Linked DNA regions of Homo sapiens: regions 1 and 3 are each linked to region 2. The links are contacts of gene promoters, found by promoter capture Hi-C in human tissues and cell types (Jung and others, 2019). All regions are on one chromosome and are shown on one strand. The core of a region is centred on a gene start or on the middle of the fragment in contact, and the rest is flanking DNA. Distances in the headings are between cores, read along the strand shown.

Region 1 (3,958 bases), core at 1,434-3,933, 49 kb after region 2:
CAGTCTCTTAGGAAGTTAAAATATGCTTATCCTACAACTCAGCAAGTCTACTTTCAGGAATCTACCTAGTAAAGAGAAATCATTTATCCACAAAAAGACTTGTATATGAGTGTTCATAGCAGACTTATTCATAATAGCCCAAACTGAAAACAAGTCAAATCTCTGTCAGCAGGTAAATGGAAAAACAAATCATGGTACATCCATATACCTCAGTACTACTCAGCAGTGAAAAAGGAATGAGCTATTGAAATGTGCAACAACATGAATGATTCTCACCAATGAGACCTGAGCAAAAGCCAGGCCTCAACACATACTAGATGATTCCATTTACATGAAATGCTAGAAAAGACAGACACAGGGCCAGGTGTGGTGGCTCACACCTGTAATCCCAGCACTTTGGGAGGCCGAGGCAGGCAGATCACCTGAGGTAGGGAGTTCAAGACCAGCCTGATCAACATGGAGAAACCCCATCTCTACTAAAAAAAAATATATATATATATACAAAATTAGCTGGACATGGTAGCGCATGCCTGTAGTCCCAGCTACTCAGGAGGCTGAGGCAGGAGAATGGCTTGGACCCGGGGGGCGGAGGTTGCAGTGAGCTGAGATTGTGCCACTTGCACTCCAGCCTGGGTGACAGAGTGAGACTCAGTCTCAAAAAAAAAAAAAAAAAAATCAGAGCGTGGACGCTTTTCCACATCATGAACAATCCACCCGCAGCCCCATTCTGACGATATATACAAGAGAGTGATAAGCTGTGGTTGGTGTGTGTGTGTGTGTGTGTGTGTGTCCAAGATTACTGGTTGTGAGCAAAGAAGACTTGCTTTCTCTGAAACATTCTAGTGTTTCAGAAGGGAGAAGAAATTTGTGTATTAAGCGTGAAATGAAATTTAACATATCTTGGAGATCTTTCCACGTCAGTTTATAGAGAAATACCTCAATCCCTATATAACTTTCAGTTGACTATTCCATTGCACACTTGGTCCCTATTACCTGCGGGAGATTGGTTCCAGGACCCCCAAGGATGCCAAAACCTGCTGAGGCTCAAGTTTTTTATATAAAATGGCATGGTATTTGCATATAACCTAAACACATGCTCCTGTATACTTTAAGTCATCTCTAGATTACTTGTAATACCTAATACAACTTAAATGCTATATAAATAGCTGTTATACTGTCTTGCTTAGGAAATAAAATATAAATATATAAATAGCTGTTATACTGTCTTGTTTATGACCCCCAAAATAAAAGTCTATAGATGTTCAGTACAGATGCTATTTTTTCTGAATATTTTCCACCCATGGTTGCTTGAATCCTTGGTGGCGAAACCCTCCCATATGGAGGGCTGACCATATATATCTACAAAACTTTTTTTTTTTTTTGAGACAGAGTCTTGTTCTGTCACCCAGGCTGGAGGGCAGTGGTGTGATTTCGGCTCACTACAACCTCCGCCTCCTGGGTTCAGGCGGTTCTCTTGCCTCAGCCTCCCTAGTAGCTGGGACTACAAGTGTGTACCACCATGCCTGGCTAACTTTTGTGTATTTTTAGTAGAGATGGGGTTTCACCATGTTGACCAGGCTGGTTTCGAACTCCTGACCTCAAGTGATCCGCCCGCCTCGGCCTCCCAAAGTGCTGGGATTACAGGCGTAAGCCACCGTGCCCGGACCTACAAAACATTTAAAGTAGTCCCCTACTGATGGACATTTAGGTTATTTTTATTTGTATGAAGCGCATTCATATGTGAAGGCCCCTGTACACACACTGCAGTGAGTGAATGAATGAATTCACTGCACATGCTGCAGTGAATGACTCCATGGGAACTAACAGGTTTTCAAGTTATGCAGACGTAGAATGAAATCCCAGCTCTGCCACTTACAAGCTGGGGCCAATCACGTCAGCCCTCCCAAGCTTTGGATGAAGTGCGCGGTTGGAGGATTAAACGAAGGCTGCGTATCTGTGGCACCTGCCATAAGGTGACCCTGCAGTCAATCGCTTCCCTTCCCATTCCCTTGAGGACAATGGAGGTGGCTTGCAGGTACCTTTTGTGTGCATTATTAGGCCTTGGTTGTCCATTGGATAAATACTGGGGGTTGGGGGAACTGAACCAGGACACGTGCGCCAGGATGGCTGCTTCCCAGAAGCGCCACCCAGTACCTGGGCCCGGTGCTGGAGATGAAAGGTCATGGCCACGTTGACCTCTCCAGTGACGTCCCACACTTCAGAGGAGATGATGGCTGACCCCACCTGGGTGCTTAGGAACCTGTGGGAAGAATGGGAGCTTTCAAGGGTGGCTGTGGAGGAGGGATGGTGCCTGGCTGCGGCATGTCACCCAGGCCCCTACGGTGGAGGTGGCAGCCTCTGTGTCCGAAGGGATATCAGGAATTGTGGCACCTGGTTCAGTCTTGCCTTAGGGACTTGCTGGTAACTTGGGTAAGTCCCAACACAGAAGCCAGAACCCCAGACAGGAGTTGAGCCGTGTTCACCTCTGGCAGGTGCAGAAGTGTGTGTGTGTTGGGCAGGGGTGGGAAAGGGTGGGCCCTGGGCTGCTAAGGACACATGCGCCCACCAGAACGGGGGCTTTGGCCTTCCTTGGGGAGGGGACACAGGCCCTCACAGCCCTCCAGGTGGCGCCTACTCACCTCTGCACCCTGTTTGCCTCCTCTGAGCTGGCAGGGGCCTGGGGCTCTAGGTCCGGTCCCTCTAGGGTGTGCTGGAAGACTCTGGAGGTGAACCAGCTGTGGATCACGGTGACTCCAGAGAGGCCTGGCTGAGAGGAAGGGGCACCAAGGCACCACCCGGTGGCTGGGCAAGCACCACCAGTTGGCCCCGAGGGTGATGCTCTCCCCACTCTAGAGATAGGGAAACTGAGGCTCAGAGAGGTAAACTGACTTCCCTAAGATCACACAGCTAAGAAGTGGAAGAGCCAAAATTCCAAGCAGCCACAGTCCATGTGCTGAACCTCACAACTCCAAGGCCCTTTGCCCCTTGCCCTAATCCCCCACCCCTGCATGGCATCAAGCATAGGGGATCTTCCTCCACCACCCACTCCCGAGGGAAGATGTGTGTGGTTCGGTGGAGGAGAGTAAGTGAACACCACTCTGTGGTGGGTGCTTTTAACCTCATAAGCCACAAGGCAAGTAGTAATGTGCCCATTTTACAGACGAGCAAACTGAGGATCTGAAAGATGAGTAGCACAGCTAGCGACAGTTAGAGCTGAGGTTTGACCCAGAACCCAACAGGGCTCTGGACACCCCCTCATCCTCACCCACCTTTCCTGAGGAGTCGCCTCACTTCACTCGCAGGAATGTGGATATGGCCGGGCCCCTCTGGACGCCCACCAGGCATTGTGAATAAGCAGCCCCTCGTGCTGGCCTCCCTCAAGCGTAAGCTCCGCACCTCCAGGCCTGGGGGTAAATGGGGCTGGGTGGCTGGACCTCGGAGTGAGGTCTTTCTGCTGAGCAGGCCCAGCTAGCAGGGTCTGGATCCCTCCTTCCTGCCATAGGCCTAGGAGGCCACCATTCCTGCTCAGAGAGGTTCAGCAACTTGCCCAAGGCAAATCTGACTTTTCCAATTCCAGGGGAAGGGGGTCACTGAGAAGGAGGGGCGGTCACCGCGAGGCAGGACCTGAATATTGATGAGTCACCAGAAACTGGTGGGTACCCGAAGGACACGTGTTTGTACCTGAAGCTTCACCACAGGTGCACCCCCATTCAGGCTACAAACATTCACGGAGTGTGTACTTGGGCTTGGCCCCAAGATGCTGAGATGGCTCAGAAACAGCCTTACCACTCAAGGAGTGTCCCATAGAGGGAGATAATTCCATTATGTAATTACCAGAAATGCAATGAAAGACATGTTCAAGGTTCTGGGGTAACAGAGGCGGGAGGAACTGTCTCTCAGAGGAGGAGAGAGCTAAAACAGGAAGGCTTCCTAGAGGGAGTGAGGCCCACACAGGGTT
Region 2 (4,030 bases), core at 381-2,880:
ACACACTAGGTTTTATTTTATTTTATTTTATTTTATTTTATTTTATTTTATTTTATTTGAGACGGAGTCTCACTCTGTCGCCCAGGCTGGACTGCAGTAGCACAATCTTGGCTCACTGCAACCTCTGCCTCCCAGGTTCAAGCGATCCTCCTGCCTCAGCTTCCCAAGTAGCTGGGACTACAGGCACAAGCCACCACACCAGGTGAATTTTTCTATTTTTTAGTAGAGATGGCGTTTTGCCATGTTGGCCAGGCTTGTCTTGAACTTCTTGACCTCAGGTGATCCGCCCACCTTGGCCTCCCAAAGTGCTGGGATTACAGGCATGAGCCACAGTGACTGGCTGGAAAACACATAGGTTTTAAATATAGTTGGCGTTTCTACTTTTTCAGTGGCCTTCCATGAAAAAATATATATAGGGAGAGTTGGCTTCACTTCACTTATCCAGAAAAGTCCCTCTTGTTCCAGATAAGTGAGGTGTTGGGTGTGATTTATTTATTTCCTCCAATGAAGGGATATGTGGGAGGAGGGGTGGTTCTCAACAGTGACTGCCCCATAGTCACCCTGTGCCCCTCCCTGCTCTCCCAAGATGAAAGGCACGGAGGTAAATCCTCTGAGGACAGAGACTTTTCTTCTCTTTCCTATGGGATCCCTGGTGCCTGGAACAGTGCCTGACCCCTAAGTGTGCGCTCAGTAAATGTGAGACAAACAGAGGAACACACAAAAGATCCAGTCACCGTGGGAGCGGCACAACACCCTGCAACCCGGGCCCTACAGGAACAGGATATTTCAGAGCCCATCTGGGCCCAGAGATTGGATGGGGACGTCCCAGGTTGTCTAGGGAGGCCTAGCCTTCTAGATAAGGGCCCCTTCCTGCTACCCTGTCCTATCCTGGACTAGCTTCATACTTGGTTCAACCTGGGGCCACTATAGCCACCACTTGGCCTCAGAGGCAGTCTCAGCCCAGCCTCAGTTTTTCCAGCCATCGACTGGGAACATCAGCAGCCCACAGCAGATGAGGACATTCAGAGGCCACCGTGGCATGCACGCACCAGGTGTCCAGGCCGCTCACCTGCTCCCCTTCCGGCCCCCCTCTTCTTCCACCTGATGGAAGAGGAAAAAGAGGTGGAAGCAGCAGGCCGCCTAGTCAAGTCGCCATGGCCTTGCCTCCGCACTGGCCTGTCCTGACTCTACTCCAATGTCCGGGCTGGGCCAGACCATGCCAGGCCAGGCCCCAGGGAGGTAGCCATTCACAAGGAGAGAGGAGCAGGCGGCAGGCCGGGTGGGGGAGCAGCCCATAAATCAAGCCCCACTCCCACCCGGTTTCTAACAAGCGGGGCTGCCTACCCGCCTCTGTGGGGTCCCTGCCTCTGGGCTCCCACAGCGGGCCTGGAACAGCCAGCTGGCCAAGGCCTCTGCAGTGCCTTGGCCTCCGCCCCCACCCTCAGCCCCCAGATAGATAGGGGTATTTTTTTTCTTTTAGGAGAAGAAGAAAAAATAGACGTAAATGAAGAGAAACACCAACAAAGAAGGCGAGAGGCCTGCAGAGTCACGTGGGGGCAGAGACCAATTGGGCCTCCGGTGGCCCCCCCACCAGGGCGGGGAGGAGGAGGAGGACGGACGGACAGGGCCAGCCTGCTGTCCGGCTGCCGCCCGCCGTGGTGTGAGGGGGTTTCTGCGCACCCACAGTCGCCACCGTCCCACCTGGGCTGCCGGAGCCTCCCCCTGGACCCCTGGTGCCCACTGCCACCCTCATCCGGTGTGAGAGCGCTGCTTCCGCTTCGTAAGTGAGGGCCTTGGCCCAGGCCTCTAATGGCCAGCCTCCTTCTGCAGTGCCTCCCTGCAGCCTGGGCCGGCCACTGCCTGCTCCACTTAGTGACCGGTGCCCCCTGCTCTGGGCAGGGAAGGTGCCAGGGGTCTCCCAGACTCACCCTCCCACCATGCTACCCCCTCTTCTTCCCTGGGCTGCCGATGGGAGGAGCCAGGCCTGTGACCACAAGCCCCATGGAGGTCCGCTGGTGTCCCGCTGTCTCTGGCCAGGCATCCACCAGGCTGTGTGGGTCTGAGCCTAGAGGTCTGTGAGTGTGTCTGGAGGGCTCTGGGCCTGTCTTGGGGCTCTGTCCCCCACCTGAGTTTCTGTGTTGTCTCTGTGGCTCTCTCTGAGTCTTGCTGTGTATCCGTGTGTCTGTCTCCGGCATCCATCTGTCAGCCTGGGTTCTGCGGCCGGGCCAGGTCTAGGCTTCCCTCCCTGGGTGGGTGGATGAGGGGCTGGAACTCCCCAGGCGGTGGGCTGGAACCTGGAACCTGTGGGGGTGGGTGCCTCGGAGCCTGGAGTGCAGAGGAGCCATGGGCTTCCAGCCGGTGAGAGTAGAAACCCTTGGGGAGAGGGGATTGGAGATAGAGGGAGAAGGGCCTGAGCCCAGCCCCCACCCAACCCCGGCGGCTGGGGCCTGTGTGTCCAGCTCCAGGTTTCCAGGAGACCTCGGGTGAGCTCTACCTTAGAACAGCCAACTGGGGCACCCCAGCCCATCATCCACCAACCCCCTTCCCTCCTGCAGTCACTGTCTGAGGGCTCCATTGTGGTGGGGAGCTGTTCAGAGGCGGCAGTGACCCCCACCTCCAGCTCGGGCAGATGCTCTTGTTTCTCAGGGGTTTGGGGGTGCGGGGGGTACGATTAACAGGGTCTCTGGCTCTTTCTTCCCTCCTCATCCAAGATTCTTGCATGGAAACCGCAGTACCCCATCTGTAAAGCCAACATGTTCCACTTTATGCTCGGAGAAAACTGAGGCTCTCGTTTCAGAGAGGAGAAGTGACTTGCCCGAGCTTGCACAGCTAGTCTGCGGGTTCTGCTCCTTCTGTGGGTGAGCCAGCTGAGTGCGGTCTGCGCGGGGGGTTCTCTGGCCACAACTTGCAGGCCCCAGGCCCAGCTCCAACCGAAGCCCGAGGCCTCCAGGCGGGCGGGAGCCCAGATGGAGCCTTTTGGTGGGTTGCGCCGCTGTCAATGCAAAATTGCGGTATTTTCCTGCTTGAAGATCGCAGCTTTTTGGCCTCATGGTCCCCAAACTCTCTCTGACCCCAGGTGCCAGCGGGGGCGGAGGCAGGATGCAAGCAGGCCCCTTCCTTTCGGGTCCGTTTCTCCAGCTGAAAAACAGTGGCCCCGCGGATGGTCCCTAGCCCAGAGCAACTGCTTGGCCCATAGGCCCGGGAACCCCTTTGTCCCCAAGACCGCCCAGCGCTTTCTTCCTCGCCCCACCCCCCCGTGAGAGCTCCGAGGGGAGCAGCGGGGCCCTGCCTCCGGGCTCCTCTCCCAGCTCCTGCGCCCGTAGAGGCTTCGGGTCCCCCCAGGCCTCGGACATTTGTAAAATGGGATTTCCACGAGTCCCATTTCCAGCCCAGCGACCTGAGGCTAGCGAGCAGAAGGGGTTCGCCCCAGATCTCCCCAGAGGGGCGCCACTGAGCGCTTCCGCCAGGCCACACGCGTGCTTTGCCCCTACTGCTTGGGTTCATCCTCACGACCCACCCTTAGCGAGGAAGAGCGGTCATCTACCCACTTCACAGATGCGGCAACTGAAGACCCGAGACGGGGAGAGAGCTGCTACAGGCTCGAGTGAGGAGATGTGGTGGGCCCCATGGGAGAATCTGGCTTCCACCCGTGAATCCGAGCCTCGGCCACGGTCGCCACTCGCCCTTACCCACTTCCACGCTGTAGTGCGACCAGCCACCCGCGTGGCATTCGCCACGACCCAGCTGGGTTCACAGACAGGAGCTGCCTCCTCCCACTGCAGGCGGGTGACCCAAGGCCCCCACTGCCCTATACCTGCCCAGATCGCGGGGCACTCGGGCTCCGCAGCTCTCTGGCCGCGCTCGGGGTCCGGGGAGCCGGGCTGCGGCTGGGGGGCCTGGAGGATGAGGGCGAAGACTCGAGCTGGACTGCGGAGAGGGTGCCGGCGCGGGCCGGGCTTGGGGGGAGGACACGACCGGGCCTCCGCCCCCGGATACCGCACGCGCCGATATAGAGGGGCCGGCCCCCGGC
Region 3 (3,840 bases), core at 385-2,884, 42 kb before region 2:
AGACCAGCCTTGGTATCATGCTGAAACCCCGTCTATACAAAAAAAAAATACAAAAATTAGCTGGCGCGGTGGCATGTGCCTACAGTCCCGGCTACTCTGGAGGCTAAGGTAAACCTGGGAGACGGAGGTTGCAGTAAGCCAAGATCATGCCATTGTACTCCACCCTGGGCAACAAACCAAAAAAAAAAAAAAAAAAAAAAATTCACCATTAGAACATCACAGTAATAATTGCGACAAGCAAAACCTACTAATGGATGCTAAATAAGTGGCATCAGTGTCAACAGAAACAGAATATTTGCATAGTCTGCAAATATATAGTAATTACAAAGGGAAAAATAGTAAGTTTATTTAGAGAATTCTGACAGACATAACTTTAGCCAAGTGATCAAGATTAACAGTACCAATAAAACACACCAACATTGTATATACCCCCTGATATGAAACACTGAGAAGGTCACACATATACACACACAGAGAGGTAAGTTCACTCAATCTAATCCTGAGAAAACAAACAAGCCCATATTGAGGGACATTCTTCAGAATAACTGACATTTGACAAAATACCCATTTGAAAAGTGTCAAAGTCACAAAAAAACAAGGAAAGACTGAGCTGTCACAGATTGGAGAAGACTATGAAGGCATGACAGCTAAATGCAATGTGGGCCCCTGGATTGTGTTCTGGAACAAAAGATATCAGTGAAACAACTGGAGAAATCAAAATAAAGTATGTACTTTGGTTAATAGTATTGTACCAAGGTTAATTTCCTAGTTTTGATGACTAGACATGATTATGTCCATTGTTAAAAGGAGGAGGGTGTATGGGAACTCTCCATACTATTTTTGCAACTCTTGTATAAAGTCTAAACTTACCTCAAAATTTAAAAAATTAACTATTAAAAAAATGCAGCTGCCATTTGTGGCTGGGGCTTTTTCACCTATGTGCAAGACAGCTCTCTGTTGTTCTCCATCTTTGGATATGGAACTGAGTATCTTTTCAGACCTGAAAGTTGGCTGGTCAGAAAACTCCTTAGCAAAGCAATGAGGAAGATCTAAAGAAGGGTGGTGAATGGAGACTGGGCCCTGTCTGTCCATCCCCACTACTGCACTAGTATCCCCCATGTATGTTCCTTACCCATCTTGCAGTCTTCGGGATAAAGTCAGGCTCCTTAAGGTGATTTTCAAGGCCCCTCTGACACTGGCATCAGCCACCTGATCCCTTTCCTTCTCCATTTGGTGTTCCCCACTCACAATCTGCATTCCATCCTAGTTCTTCAAAAACCCAGTGATGTTTCCTGTTTTGCACATGTGGTTTCATCTGCCTGGAAGAAGAGGGGGTTTAAACATCCACCCCTTCTTCTACTCCTGACTTCAAGGTTCAGCGTTTATTTGTAACATCCTCTAAGAAGCCTTCTCTGACACCATCCCCCACCAGATAACCCTCCTGTGCTTCCACAGCTTTTTTGCATGCCTTCTGCCATAACCCTGGTCATCTTGTGTTATCTTTCTCTGTTCACTCATCTGTTTCCCTCATTATTAGACAATGAGCCCCTCAAGGGCCATGATCAAGTCCTACTTTTCTGTTGGTCCTTCAGCAAATAACTCAGTAGTGATAGGATGCTCCCTGGTTAGATGGATTGACTGTGATGGAGGGCCATGGCAGGAAGTGGGATGGGGAAAATATTGTCAGAGGAGAAATGAGGATACAGTCAGCTTCGTGGCGGGTGGTGGGGGTGGGTGTCATGTTAGTTAAGTAACTGTGAAAAAATAAAAAATTTCCTTAACTCTGTGGTCTCATAACTTGCTAACTAGTTCAAAAGTATAAAGGTCAAGGAAAGCTTCTTGGAGGAGGTGATGTTTGCAGAATGGCATTGTGAGGCAGTGATCCTGTGGCATCGCCATATCACTTTACCAGGGTAAAAAGTGCCCCAGGACACAACACAGAGGTCTGCATGAAGCACTGAGAAATCTCAAGGAGGGATAACATTTGAGCAGAATCTTAAAGAAATCAAAGTTCGTGTTCCTTACAAACATTTTTTTTACATTTCTTACATTTTCCTTATGAACTTTTTTTTTTACATTTTATTATACCAAAAAAATTTGTAGAGACAAGTTTTCAGCATGTTGCCCAGGCAGCTCTTGAACTGAGGATCAAGTTCAGCTGAGCTAAACTGAGCTCAAGCAATCCTCCCGCCTCAGTCTCCCAAAGTGCTGGGATTATAGGCATGAGCATATGCCTGCCAAAAGATTGTTTGTTTTTAAATTAAGACTTTAAAATTTTGTTCTGTTTTATTTTTAAATAATTTCAAGCTTACAGAAAAGTTGCAACAGTAGTAATAATTCCCATATGCCCTTTACCTAAATTCACCAATTGTTAACATTTTGCCACATTTGCTTTATCATGCTATTTGTTTTATTATTTTCCCTCCCCCCTCCCCCTTGCTCTTCTTTCTGTCTCTCTCTTCCACCTTCCCCACTTCCCACAGGTAAGTAAGTGTGTGTGTGCCTGCATGTACGCACCTTCTTAGCCATTTGAGAGTGAGGCATAGGCAGTGTTCCTTTTATTTCTAGCAATCACAGTACTGTTATCAAAATCAGGAAATTTAACCTGACACAGTACTATCTTATTAGCAGATCTTATTCAATTTTTGCCAGTCATCTCAGTGTCCTTTATAGCAATTTTATTTTCTCTGATCTAGAAGCCACTTCAGGAAATCACATTACATTTAGTTTTTATGTCTTTTCAGTCTCTTTTAATCTGAAATAGTTCGTCAGTCTTTCTTTGTCTTTATTAACATTGTCGATTTTGAAGCAAATAGGTCATGTATTTTGTAGAATATCCCTTAATTTGGGCTTGTCAGTTTCCTCACGAATACATGCAGGTTATGCATTTTTCGCAAGAATGCCATAGAAATGATGTTGTGTCCTTCTTAGACCATAATATCAAGAGCACATGATGTAAGTGTATACCCATTATTGGTGATATTAACTTGAATCACTTGGTTATGATGATGTCACTTAGGGAAGGTGATGTTGCCAGATTTTTCCACTTTAAGTTTCTTTCTGAGTACAGGCAACATATGCAGAGACAGAACTATGTAAAACAGAATAGCATGTTTAAAGACTAACAAATAGTTATCTACATGTAGGGTATAGCATTTATGGCAAGAGATGAGGATGAGGGGTCCCACCAGAACCAGATGATAGATGGTCTTGAATGCCATGCTAAGGAGCTTAGATTTGGCCCATGAACCAAAGGCACCACCGACAGGTTTTGAGTGGAGCTTTGATGTAGTTAGCTTTGTTATTTATGGTTTCTGGGTTTTGTTGACTGCCTAAGCCCAAGCAAATGAAGAATGGTAGGCATATGAGTTCCAAAGCAGAAAAAGTGTTTGTGGTGCCTTCTGAGAAGATAGAAGAGCCATGGCTAGGGCCATTCTCTTTCTTAGACTTAGATAAGAGTTACAGCAGAACCATTCCTGTAATACTGCACACAGGAGCCATTTGTTCTTTTTAATCAAATCACTGCCAAATAGATTTTAGCCCTGCTGAAAAACTTGTTAGTTCAGTATGGCATCAAGGAACAAGTACAGCTTTAGAATCAGAAGATCTAAATGGAAACTCCAGCTCTGTCAGTTCTTCCCTGAGCAAATCTCTTTACCTCTCTGAGCTCTGTTTCCTCATCTCAAAAATGCGTGGGAGAATAATACACCTTCCAAGGTGGTTGTGAGGATCACATGAGATAACATACATATGTGCAAGAACATTATAAGTTTGAAAATATGGTCCAAGTTTTTGTTTTTAACAGAGGCAGTGTGGCACATTGTATTGATTTCCACACTT

The links. The method cuts DNA at HindIII sites, captures the fragments that hold promoters and counts their contacts. A contact is called where the count stands out against the background at its distance.
Region 1: a fragment that was not itself captured here is called in contact with the fragment with the promoter of NR5A1 in region 2 in 2 of the 25 tissues and cell types used here (IMR-90 fibroblasts and dorsolateral prefrontal cortex).
Region 3: a contact is called between a fragment that was not itself captured here and the fragment with the promoter of NR5A1 in region 2, in 1 of the 25 tissues and cell types used here (IMR-90 fibroblasts).

What each region holds. Positions count from the first base shown.
Region 1 is chr9:124,456,918-124,460,875 of GRCh38, reverse strand. ADGRD2 (adhesion G protein-coupled receptor D2) reads right to left here. Exons shown (of 25, transcript NM_001395425.1): 11 at 3,270-3,404; 12 at 2,640-2,763; 13 at 2,155-2,260. Among named protein-coding and RNA genes, the nearest start is that of ADGRD2, 8.4 kb to the right of the region's middle. The HindIII fragment of the contact is 3,941 bases long and covers 713-3,958 here.
Region 2 is chr9:124,504,999-124,509,028 of GRCh38, reverse strand. It overlaps NR5A1 (nuclear receptor subfamily 5 group A member 1), which reads left to right and starts at 1,630. Exons shown (of 7, transcript NM_004959.5): 1 at 1,630-1,780. RefSeq lists a cis regulatory region at 1,548-1,553, promoters at 1,535-1,679, 1,550-1,873 and an enhancer at 644-4,030. The HindIII fragment of the contact is 26,734 bases long and covers 1-4,030 here.
Region 3 is chr9:124,546,737-124,550,576 of GRCh38, reverse strand. The region is part of intron 3 of NR6A1 (nuclear receptor subfamily 6 group A member 1); the gene reads left to right. Among named protein-coding and RNA genes, the nearest start is that of NR5A1, 41 kb to the right of the region's middle. The HindIII fragment of the contact is 3,043 bases long and covers 113-3,155 here.